2 separate regions of the Homo sapiens genome follow, and region 1 is linked to region 2. The links are contacts of gene promoters, found by promoter capture Hi-C in blood cells and fetal thymus (Javierre and others, 2016). All regions are on one chromosome and are shown on one strand. Each heading gives the region's core, a stretch centred on a gene start or on the middle of the fragment in contact. The rest is flanking DNA. Distances are from core to core; before and after follow the strand shown.

What was found. The method cuts DNA at HindIII sites, captures the fragments that hold promoters and counts their contacts. A CHiCAGO score of 5 or more calls a contact.
Region 1: a fragment that was not itself captured here is called in contact with the fragment with the promoter of CXCL14 in region 2 in 1 of 17 cell types (M0 macrophages); the score reaches 5.6 in M0 macrophages.

What each region holds. Positions count from the first base shown.
Region 1 is chr5:135,858,354-135,864,727 of GRCh38, forward strand. All of the region lies in intron 4 of SLC25A48 (solute carrier family 25 member 48), which reads left to right. Among named protein-coding and RNA genes, the nearest start is that of SLC25A48, 27 kb to the left of the region's middle. The HindIII fragment of the contact is 974 bases long and covers 2,047-3,020 here.
Region 2 is chr5:135,575,869-135,581,773 of GRCh38, forward strand. It overlaps CXCL14 (C-X-C motif chemokine ligand 14), which reads right to left and starts at 3,123. Exons shown (of 4, transcript NM_004887.5): 1 at 2,847-3,123; 2 at 2,566-2,671. The coding sequence starts at 2,910. It also overlaps a transcript of SLC25A48 not described here. The HindIII fragment of the contact is 10,061 bases long and covers 1-5,617 here.

The sequences.
Region 1 (6,374 bases), core at 1,284-3,783, 280 kb after region 2:
ACCAAGTGCATGGAGGGAGAGTAAAAGCCAAGATTGGAGGACCCACCTCTGCCGTGCCCCCACAAGTTTCTGTGATCTGGACTGAATAAGAATGGTCTTGGCAGTAGTGGCTGAGTGGCCAGTGTTTACTGAACCCTAATTGTGTGCCAAACACAATGCTAGGAGCTTGGCATATGTTTAATCTTCACAACAACCCAATTCCTGGGGATTTACTATGGGGAGACTGAGGAACAAAGAGGTTTCATACCCCCAGGTCCCTCCCTTAGTGGGAGGTGGAGGAGGTCTGATTCAGAGGCACTGATGCTTTCTCTGCTTTTGCCCCAGGATTTGTAGAAGCTGAGGTTATGACAACGTTGATAACATTGGGCCACCTGGGCCTTTGCGCAAAATTGTCATGCACACAAATAGCTTCAAACTTTAGGGAGAAGTGAGCTGGGAGCATGTCCCCAAAATGACGTTGTCCAAGTAATGGGCACAGCTTGTGGGTTCCAAGGGTTGGGTGTGAATTCTGTGGGATCGGGCTGCCCCCTCTGATCTCCCTTGCCCTCAGTTGCTTGGGGGAAGGAATTTGGTGGCAGCAGGTGCTAGACAGGATCAACTACTGGAGAAGGGAGGGGAGGCTGACAAAAAGTCACCAGGCAGTGTTTTCTGCCAGGAATCCCTCCAGAAAATGAGAAGGAATGTGGTTTTCTTTCAATTGCTCCTCAGGAACCCTCTAGGCTAGAGATAGAAAACTCAGAGACTCATCACGACAGGGAGCTAACATACATGTAACCTCCTATATTAGTCCAATCTCTTGCCACTAATAAAGACATGCCTGAGACTGGGTAATTCATAAAGAAAAGAGGTTTAATTGACTCACAGTTCCACATGGCTGGGGAGGCCTCACAAGCATGGCAGAAGGTGAAGGAGGAGCAAAGTCACGTCTTACATGGCAGCAGGCAAGAGAGTGTGTGCCAGAGAACTCTCATTTATAAAACCATCAGATCTCATGAGACTTACTCACTATCATGAGAACAGCATGGGAAAGACCCCACCCCCATGATTCAATTACCTCCTACCAGATCCCTCCCATGACACATGGGGATTATGGGAGCTACAATTCAAGATGAGATTTGGGTAGAGACACAGCCAAATCATATCGCCTCCCCTGGCATTGCAGTAAATACAGAGTTTATTTGACACAAGGCCAGCCACACCACGTGGGAGACAGAGTTATTCCTCAAATCAATCTCATAGGAGGCTTATAAGTTAGGGCTTTTTCAAAGGCAGTTTGTGGGAAGGGATGGAGATGGCTAGGCAATGGGTGCTTGCTGCTGATTGGTTGGCATGCAATCATAGAGGTGTGGAAAATTGTCCTCCTATGCACATTGTTGCTTCTGGGTGAGGCCACAGGAGCAGGGTTTGTGGGTCCAGGAGCAGGGCTGGTGAGTTGGTGCCACTGGTGTCAGACATGCAAAAAGCCTGAAAAGATACCTCAAAGGGCAAATCTTAGGTTTCACAATACTGATTACTCCTGCAGTGATGTTATCGGCAGGAGTAATTGGGGAAGTTTGCATATCTTGTGACCTCCTAAATAATGGCTGGCAATCCTTTATGTCTATACCTTAGCAGAATTCAGGCTCCTCTCCTCCATACCTTAGCAGAATTCAGGCTCCTCTCCTCCCTCTAGCCTGTTGACCTCTCATTACTTTTAGGGAAGGGCGATTATCATTTAAAGTATAAACTAAATGTCTGGCAAAGTTAGCTCAGCCTAAGCCAAGAAATAATCAAGGCAGCTTGAAGGATAAAGTCAAAAGGGGGATTGGCTAGATTAGGTTGCCCCCACTGCCATAATTTTCTCACTGATCTAATTTTTGCAAAGGTAGTTTCATAAGTGAGAAGAGGTGTCTGGGGAAGTGAATCCTCTCCCATTTTTCTTGAGACCACAGCTCTCCTAATCTATGTTTCATTTTTCCTCTTTCGATTGAAACCTGGACACAGAACATATTTTATCTTCTGCCTCATTCTGCTATTAGAAAAGCAGTAGTTCAAGCCTGATGTGTAAGCTTCAGTGTCTGAGAGGCAGCTGGGAGTGGTGGGGACTGTGGCAAGCTGGGCCCACATCCTGTCCAAGGGAGTGGTCACAACCCCACTTTATCGGACTGTTGCCCTGTGGCCTGATGTGCTTGGATCCTCCGATTTTTAAGAGAAGGCAAAAAGGTAGATTTTTTTCATGAGATATTTTGGTTGGAATGATCATGTAATTCAGTGAAAACCAAACAGAACACCATAGAGCCCAAGGCTGTGTGAATTGCATAGAATGGGGCTGGGGCTGGCTGCAGTCCTGTGGTCTGCGCCCTGGGTCAGTCCCAATCCATGTGTTGACTGTGCTCATGTGGGCATTTCTAGGCAGCCTTGGGCAGGGCTTTTGAGACTGATTGGGTTTTGTGGTTCTGCCTCAGGATTGCCAGTCCACTTCCAGGGCGATCCTATGTGATATGAGAGACAGCACTCACATACGGAAGCCAGGTGCCAAGAGGCCTCTGGCTTCTTCGCTCTGGTACATATGACAGGTGGACTGGGGGCCACATTGAGGTGAGAGCCCAGCTCAGGTGGTTGGGGGACTGGCAAATATATAGCCAGTGTATATTCAGCCAGCCCCTCCTGATTGTCTCTTAGTGGTGATCCATGGTTAAAAATCTACAAGCTACAGAACATTGAAAGTAGAGGTAGAAAGTGCCCATTCATGCAATTACAACCACTGGTAACACATTAATGTGTTTATTTTTCCATTCTGTATACATAGATTAAAGATTTTAAGAAGCTGTGATCATGCTATATGGACAATTTCATGTCCTGTTTTTAACTCAGCATTATAATAGAAACACTAACCATGTTATTAAAATAGCATATAAAATTTTTTTAAGTAGATGGGCAATATTTAAAATGGATGTGCACTAGTCCATCAAATACACACGCACACACACACACACACACACACACACACTGAAAGAGTCTATGTAGTATGGTAAAAATTAAGCTTCCAGAATTAGACTACCTGCTTATAATTCTACTTCCACTGAACCCAAAAAAGGTTAGACAGCTCACCTAATGTCACCAAGCCTCAGTTAACTCATCTGCAAAGCAGGCATAACTATAGTAGCTACTTTATAGCTGGGATGCAATGAAATGTATTATACATGAAGACCTCAGCACAATGTCTGGCATATAGAAAATGTGAAATAAATGTTAATTATCAGTAAATGTATTATTTAACAATCTTCCTAATGGTGAATATTTAGGTTGTTTACAGTTTTTCCTCTTTTAAAAATAGTGGTATGATCAGCGAATATATTCATAAAGAGTTCTCTTTATTTAGGGTTATTTCCCTAAATGTGTGGGCTCTTTGATTCATGAGTGGGATAAGGGGTGTGGCCATTTTTAACATTCTTGGTACATATTGTGAAATTGTTATCCAGAAGAGTTTTACCAAATCATATAAGCAGTTGCTTACATTTAAAGGGAATTTCCATTTGACACTGACTACCATTGCACAATAACCAGTAGTTATGCCCCCATGTAAATGCTTCCAAATTAACAGAGGTATTCTCCTGGGGCCTCTGCCACTTGGCAAGCAAGGAGACATTGGCCTGTGTTCAGTTGTATGTGCCTGTGACAGTAAGGCACCTGTGAAAAAACCCTTCCTTTTAAAATCACTGCCCTTTGCATGGGCATGAGCCTAACTAGGTGGCCTGTTGGGCATGAGCCTAACTAGGTGGCCTGTTGGGCATAAGCCTAACTAGGTGGCCTGTTGAGCCTGAGCTAGAAGTCAGGGCTGTGACCCTGCAGACCAGTAGTCCCTTTGCTGCCTGAGCCATGTCCTTCCTAGAAGTTCATGGCTAATGACACTCACTCCTCCCCCATCTGGGAGTGTTTAGATCTGTTTTTCCATTGAAAGACTAATTAATGTGCAGATCACAAAGCCCTCCACATAACAGGAGGTTGGAGTTGGGAGGATCAGGGAAGGACTGAACATTAACTCTGTGCTGACTATCCTAATCATTGCACCAGGCCCAACTGGAGGCAAGGAGATGAGTGTTTACACCTGTTTGAATTCACTGTGAACTGTTCATTCACAAGCATTTCCTGAGCCCCTGCTTTGAGGCAGACACAGTGGGTAAAGAAGCGCTGGAAGCCACAGCCTTCAGGGTGTCCACAGTCTAGTGGGGAGCCAGATGTGTGCTTCAATGAGAAAGGCCTCAGGAAAGTCTTTGGAACCCCTGACTCTGGCTTGGTGGATCAGGAAGCCTCCAGAAAGGAAGAGGCTGTTGATCGGGTTTTTTAGTTCTACGTAGCATTTAGAGATGGGGACATGGGATGGCGAAGTGTTTTAATACTGTGGGAACAACATAGGGGAAGATTTAGTGGCAGGAAAATGTAGGCACATGGTGGGACAAGGGAGCCTTTGGTTAGCACAGACAAGCAATGCAGGGATGGTGGGGGTTTTGGAAGATGTGGAGTAAGTTGGGAAGCGCTTGGATTTCTTCGCTGAGGATAGGCTTAGATTATATTCAGCAGGCAGTGAAGCACTTTGGACACCAGAATGATGCAATCAGAGTGGTGTTGGAGAAGAGAAAACTGGCCTCTGGAAGGGGCAGAAGAGTGGTGGGAATTGTAGAAGTGGGTAGATTGATTTGAAGGCTATAGCCACAGACCTGGGGCCCTGGGCTTGGGAACAGAGACAGGTGGCAGATGCAGAGGCCCTGATGATATAGAAGCAGCAGGCCAAGCATTAGGCATAAGCAGGAGAGAGGAAAGTGTCAAAAATGACCAAAGACCCCAAAGTTGGATGACAATGAGACAAGTGGAACCCCCCACACAGGGAATTAAGTAGCAAATGAAACATCTAAGACGGTTCTTGGCATGGAGCAGGTAATCAATCAATGCTTACTGTGGCTGCTGCTGGAGGGGCAGACTTGAGTGAGAAGAGGATGAGTTTTGCCTGGTCTATGTAGTGTGAGGTGCCTGTGAGATTGCACCTGGAAGCATCAGGGCTGCAGGTAGAGGCACAAGTGCAATAGGCATAGAAGTGACAGTTGAGGTCATAACATTAGATGCAAACACCAAGCGAGCTGCAAATAAGGCAGAGGATGGCAGCAAAGAGAAGACTTAGTGAAGGAATTTGGGAAGAAGCAGAGAGTTACAGTAACACTAATAACTGCAGTTAAAATTATCGAGCTCATACCATGTATTGAGCTATACCACGTTAATGCCCATTCCATTATCATCACAGCAACCCTATGAAATAGGCCCACTTATCATCTTTATTTTACAGGTGAGAAAACCGAGGCTGAATTACATAATTTGTCCATGCTCACATAACTATCCCTTGGGGAGGTGGGGAATTACCCCAGGCTGTGCAACTCTATGACCCCTAGAAACTGAGTCCTGAGAAACTGGTGTTACTGAAGTAGGAGGAAGGAGCATGTGGAGGGGAAAAATGCTAAAGTTGGGGTGATGATGGGGACAGAGACAGAGGGCAATGGAGAAGGAAAAGGCGTTCATTTCCAAGTTGGGAGAGAAGAAGAAAGAAAGTAAAAATGCAGAGAGATTCTTGAGGGCAAGTGGGAGGAAGTTGAGGGAATTGATGTCAGAAGCCCTGGCTCCATCATACTGAAGACCATATGGATAGAAAGGAATCAGAGTGGGGCCAGGATTTGAGGTGAAGAAGGTTCTAATTTCTGGACATGACAAGAGCAGACAAGCTGGGCTGGATGGTAACAGCAGAGAGGGTCAGCCAAGAGGGGTCTCAGCCACAAAGCCATCTGAGCCCAAGAATCTGCATGGTGACAAAATAAGGCAAAAACATTTCTCTAGTTTCCCTGAATCCTCAGAGTTGCCTGGCTGGGAGGTCATCAGCTGTACCTCTGAGGCCCTGAGTGCATCCATTTGTCTCTTTAGCAATATTTTATTGCTACTTTGAAGATGTGTGGCAACCAAGGAAAATATTCTTCTCCAGGCAGGTTGACCTTGGGAAGGAACAGCAGATTTTCCAAGACTTTCCCAGTACAGGGTAGGGGTTATTGATGTTAAGATCCCTGAAGGGACACACAACCCTTAAAGATGAAACCTTATGTAGAAAGGCAGGAACCCTTGGAGCATGAAAAGGGACCCAAAATCCTGAAGACAACCCAGGCCTGTATAGCCTGGGCCTTCTCAAGTAGGCTGTGGGTTGCCAACAGCAAGTGAGAGCTGGAGCAATGGCAGCCCAGGAGTGAAGGGAGGAGGTTTGTGGAGAGGCCAAGCATATGGCCATGCAGTTCCAAAGAAGTCCTTGTTCTGAACGGTTTGACTAGTTTGAACCCTTTGAACAGTTTGTCCTTTTCAAACAG
Region 2 (5,905 bases), core at 1,873-4,372:
GGAGACTGGAAGTGAGAGTGGAAAGAGTGAGAAGAGAGGGACAGAGGTCAGCTAGTTCCCCACTGTTAACCAAATGGAAAATGTCATGGCTTATATGGGCTAAGTTCTAGAAGGGACAGGATTCCCATTACTTCAGTCTCCCAGTTGATGGGGAAAGAAAATCGGATCTTGCCACCAGAATGGGGGCATAATGTTCCTAGGCAACCTGTTCTCTTCCCTTCTCCGTGCTCTGGGTTTCTGGGGTCCCTGCTAGGGCCTAAGCTCCTTGGGGCAGGGGCGGGTCTTCCTGCTGATGCCAGGTGATGGTGCCTGCCTTGACTGGACTCCTCTGTGACTCCGGGTCATTCCTCTAGCCTTGAGCACAGGCCAGGCTTCAGAGTGAACTCTGGTTGTCTCTCTCCCCCACTGTGCCCAGTCACCCTGCAGGAATTTAGCAAATGCTTTTCTCTTTCTGCCTACAAGGCTGCTTTAGCATTCTGAAGGAAAGGACGTGGTAATGCCTGATAAAAACCCTTTCTCAGTTAGGTCAGTGTGCAGGCTGTGCATCCCAAATCCTGAAGGTCAGGGAGAGCAGGAAGGGAGAGCAGGAAGGGTCACTCAGCCCTCTCACTACAGTGCTCAAATGCCACGTCATAATACTGGGATTATGAAAATCGGTTGTGGAGTGCAGACATAGGGATTTGTGACTCCAGCAACTATCAGAAATTCTGAGTCCTGTGACCCTCTCCTCCACAGTTCTGGCGGTGGGGGTAAGGGTTTTGGTGAGAGCTCCATGGACCTATGACACAAATTGCTCTTTCTAGAATTCGGACTCTCCTGGATCCTTCTGGGTGCAAGGACTCCCACTTGCAAAGCGGACCTCTCCCCCCGCCCCTACTCCTGCCCCCACCCCCAGCCTCAGCAGAGATTTCTGGGTGACTCAGGGTAAGCTGGAAAATTTGCTTTTGTTCAGCCTTTGTGGCTGAAAACCTGCTTTGCAAAAGTGCTGGCCCCTCATCTGATTTGGAGAGTTTTAGGATTGTGGAGGGGGAGAGGAGCCCCCAGCCCTCAGGGATGGAGTGGGAGGCCCTAGGGGGTGGGTTAGAGGTTTAGTAGAGGGTGATTGGATTGTGTGCTGATCTCCTGAGGCCCCTGCACGTTTCTACAAGGCTCCGTAAAGCCTTTCTCACACTTGCCTAGCTATAGTTTTTCTCTATATGTGGAAAAGTTTAGCCAGGAAAAGAGCAAGCCTATTTACTGAGGGCTCTGTCCTTTTTAGGTATCACTGCATCCTTTACCCTGCTTTCTTCCCCTGCAAGGTCTCAGAAACTTGTTTGGTTAATAGAGTGGTTTTCAGCTCTTAGACGAGTGAGATTTAACTTGGAATTCCCCTGTCATTCTTAGCCCCCAAACTGGAAGCCCTGAGGAGCTTGGAGCTCCTTTCCCAGCTCATTTGACACTTGGCCCCCACCCAAAAGGATTTTTGGGTATTTTCTTTGAATTTGGTCTGCAAGGCAAGGGGTAGGGACAAGCAAGTTAATTTAGGTGTCTGTGAAGGAAGGCAGTGGGGTCAGCTCAGTTCCAGTGGATTTCTGAATTCCCCTAATTTCAGCCTGACAGTGTAGCCCCTAGACGGGGATGGGGGGTGCTGGGTAGGGGTGTGCACTGCTTTCGCAGACACTGTGAAGGCCTTTGCGCCGGTGGGGGCCAGCTGGTGGAGGGCACTTGCCCAGACTGAGAATAAAGTGCGTCCTGTTTCTGGGGGAGGGGAAGAGGGGCCAATGGTCTGTGGCAAATATTTGGTAGCCGCTTTGCCAAGGGCTCCCTTCCTGGCCAAGAGCATATTGATGAGGAGGCAGCGGTGCTGGCCTCAAGTGGTTAATTGGGAAGGCGGAGGAGCAAGAAACTAAGTGTTCTCTCACTCTGCCCCAGTTTTTCCAACATTCCCCACATCCCCACCAAGCAGGGCTCCAGCCATGTGGCACATTAACCCCAGCAGAGCACTTTCTGCAGTACTGCTCCGTATTGGGGACCCACAAGGAGTACAGTCGGTGAGGGAAGCTCGTGGAGCGTTCTCAAAATAAAATCTCTAGGAGCCAAAAACTTGCGGTCCACTTGTCTCTGACTGGAACAAGGCTCTGAAGGAGACTCAGGATTTAAGATAGTGTTTGCATTAGTCCTCTATCCAGTGACAGGAAGGCAGCACGCCTCACAGTTTGGGTGTGAGTGTGTTTTAAGTGATTTCAGTCTAGGTTTTCTGAGTTGGCACAAGGGAACCCTTTAACCCTTGATGGCCCTAGCAGAGTGGGTGGCCCATGGTACAAATAGGGAGACTGCTCATTTGAATCCTAGCAAGGGTGAACTTGGAGGCGCTGTTCCGGAGCGGGACAGTGACCCCCCTTCCCGACTGTCTTCCAGAGTGTCTCGCCAGCGTCCTAAGGACTCTCTGGGCAATTACAAAGGCTTTTCCAGGGCCTTGACAAAGTCGGAGAGAAATGTTTGTTAGCCCGACCCAGGCCCAGGCTGTGCCCTGGCATTGGGTTGACAGCAGTGCGCACCCCCTCAAGGTGAGGAGCGAGAACTCACATAACCATCTTCTCCTCGCAGTGCGGGTACTTTGGCTTCATTTCCAGCTTCTTCACGTCGCTGTAGCGGATCTTGGGTCCCTTCCGGGAGCACTTGCATTTGGACCCTGCGAGCGAGCGCGGGGCAACGGCTTAGTTGCTAGGCGGTCTCCTGCCCCTCGACCACCTTGGTGCCCACCCAGACCACCCCCCGCGGGATCCCAGGATGCCTAGAAATTGGCGCTTGGGTTCCCCAGGACAGGACAAGACGAGACGGCGACAAGGGGAGCTCCCCGCACTCACCGTCCACACGCGCGGTGTACAGCGCCAGCAGCAGCAGGAGCAGCGCGGCCGCCAGGAGCCTCATGCTGACCGGAGGGGCGCGGCGTGGGAGCAGGGACATGGGGAGGGCGCTGGCCCGTCGGAGCGGCGGCCCGGAGACGCCACCCAGCTCTGCTCGGCTTTCTCTGCCCGGGGCGCGCCTTCCGGCTCTGCTGGCTCCGGCTGCGCCGTCGGTGGATGCCCAGGGCTGTCTGTGGCCGTGCGCTGCGCTCTGCGCTTGTCTCCGCGCTCTCTCCACAGCCTCCCTCCGCCCGCCCTGGCCTCTTTTAAATCCGCTCCTGCCCTCGCAGCGAGCGAGCTCATTAATATGCAGAACCACTCGGTGACTCACTGAGATTTCTCAATGTGGTGAGGGGAGGAGACCTTCCCAGCCCGCCCGTCGCCCGCCCCGGGAAAGGACCCGCTATCGCAGCGGCGCACACCCGGAGCCACGCGCGCACACGCACACACACATCCGCTACCCTCTCGCTCACACAACACGCCGCCTTCGCACACTTGCACACCCATACCACAGCGCGCACACATTTCCAGCGTCCCGCTCTGCCTTTGGGGAGCCCAGACGGTGGAGAGGCTGCTGAAGGGCACTGCTTTTCTGAATCGTGTGGTTCTCTCTCTGGCCCGGCAGGCCAGCTTTTCCGAGCCGGCGGGAGACCCAGGCCCAGGGCTCAGATCCTCAAAGACCTGAAAGGGTTTTGGAGCAGGTGCCAAGTGTGAGTGCCTGCAGGCCTGACCCCCAAGGGCCCCTGCTGGGCCAGAACACAAGGCCAGTTCTGGACAGGGGCTTGTCATAGACTGTCCAGCAGCAAAGTCATTGACTGTGATCACTGGAACTGACTCAAAGAGGGTATGTGTGTGTATGCGGGGGTGGGGACGGGTATTGGGGAGGAGTTTTGGTGACTCCCAAAGGAAAGCTCCTTAAAGTGGGTCAGTGGCCTGGTGGCTGTGTGAGTGTCTGGGTGGTGGGGAGAACCAGGAGGAGTCCTCACTCTCACACTACTCTCCAAAGCCAGGTAGAGAGCCCTAGTGGAGAGCGATGACAGTGGTAACCATCTGGATGAAGGCCTTCCCATGTTCTAGACATTGTGCCAGAATGCGAGGTATAGTGGTGTGAGCCCAGCCATAGTGGCAGAAATTCCCTCCTCACTACTTTCCAGCACAAGTGACTTTACCGCTCTCAGCTTTTGTTTCATCATCTGTAAAGTGCAGATCATCACAGTGTTTCTGATAGGGTGGCTGTGAGAACTATAGAAATCATACATGTTGTCAGTACCCAGGAAATGTTACTTATTGGCACCATCGTTTTATGTCTAATTTATCTATTACTTTGATTCTTACCAATTGGTACTTTTCTTCCAAGTTGGTACTTTTAATTTCTTTATTTGACAGGTGTGGAAACATGCTCTGAGAGAAGAAATAACTTGTCCAAGGTCACAGAGCTAGGAAGCAGGTGACTAGGCCAGGAGGGTCCTCAGTATATACGGCTGCAGAACTGGGACTCCTGTCCCTGGACCACTCTGTTGCTTTGAGGCCTGTCTGCCCTTCACTTCTTGCTGCCTTGAGAGACCCAGAGACAGGAGGTGGATCATCTCAAGCTCTTGGAGTCCCTGGGCTTGGCTGTCAGGAGAGAGCTCACCCAGCTCTATGCCATCAGCCTGGCAGTTCCCTGGAGGCAAAAATGCCCAGAGGGCTTCTGGATGATGGGGACAGTCTGCTGAAGGGTGCAATGGGAAGAATCTGTGTCGTCTCTTCCCAACTGGAGAGCCCTTGCTGCTTCAAGAAGAAGCTGAGCCATGAAAAGCAAGCAGCGCCTATGCGTGCTGTTGTGCCTATACCTAAAGCAAAGCCAATAGCTGGACATTTGCATTTATGCATGAGATGAGTATGAGGGAGTGACTTTTGGCATTTATGTTAGTTTTTAACTCTAAAAATAATTTTTTAAAATATAGAAACAACACGTTTGCCCAGAAAAATCAGAAAACCCAAGCAGAAGAAAACTAACATTTTCACGCAAGTAAAATCTTGGGTGAAATCTTCCCAAAGCATCCTCTTTTTGCTTTGTGTGCACATGTACACATGGGATCAGGCTGCATGTAGTCTTTAATAACCTGCTTGCTATACCTATTAGCATATTGTGAACATCGCTCCATGTGGCTAGCCTTGCTACAACAATAGCTCCCTTAATGGTTTCATCTGAGGCCGGGTAGTATAATGGCTAAGAGGCTGGTGTCTGGAGTCAAATTGCCTGAGTATGCATCCTAGGGACTAGCTGTGTGACTTTGGGCAAATACCTTAACTCTATTTGGTATTGGTTTCCTCATCTGTGAGATGGAGATGATAATAATATGTACAGCATAGGCAGAATTAAATGAGATAGTGCATGTAATGCTTTTAATGTGGTCCCCAACACAGAGTAAGTGTTTGATATGTGCTGACCATTGCGGTTATCATGATTTTAGCTGCAGAGTATTCCGTCATACAGATGTACCAGAATTAATTTGACTACTCCTTGCTGGACATTTGGATTGTTTTCAACCTTACCCTCTTACAACCAATGCTGTTTGACAAATATTCTTGTAGCTCCATTTTGGGGTAGGTTTTAATACATTGGATCAGCCCTCAGAAATAGAATCATGGGGCCATGGCACATGCCCATTTTAAGACTTTTCATAGAAATTGCCAATTGCTTTCCAAAAAAATATATTTTATGCTGCAAAGGAATTTCTTAAATACCAAGCTTTCCTAGAGCATGTAAAGTATTATTTTTTATTAACGATTTTATTTCTAACATGTTTGTTTCAAGAATATGTTGATTGATTAACTGGGATCTAACAACACCAGCGATCGTGGGCACTGAGTTTTCACAGGAAAAAGTAGTTGGCTCTAGAAATATGGACCAACGTTCCCCAGCTTCTTGGGCTGGACCAGAGGTCAGACGTCCCAGTGTTTTGTCCTCAGTTACACTCCTCAGTCTGTGTATGCAGATCTCTGGTTTGCAGAAGGCAGCCACTGTGCAAGCAGAG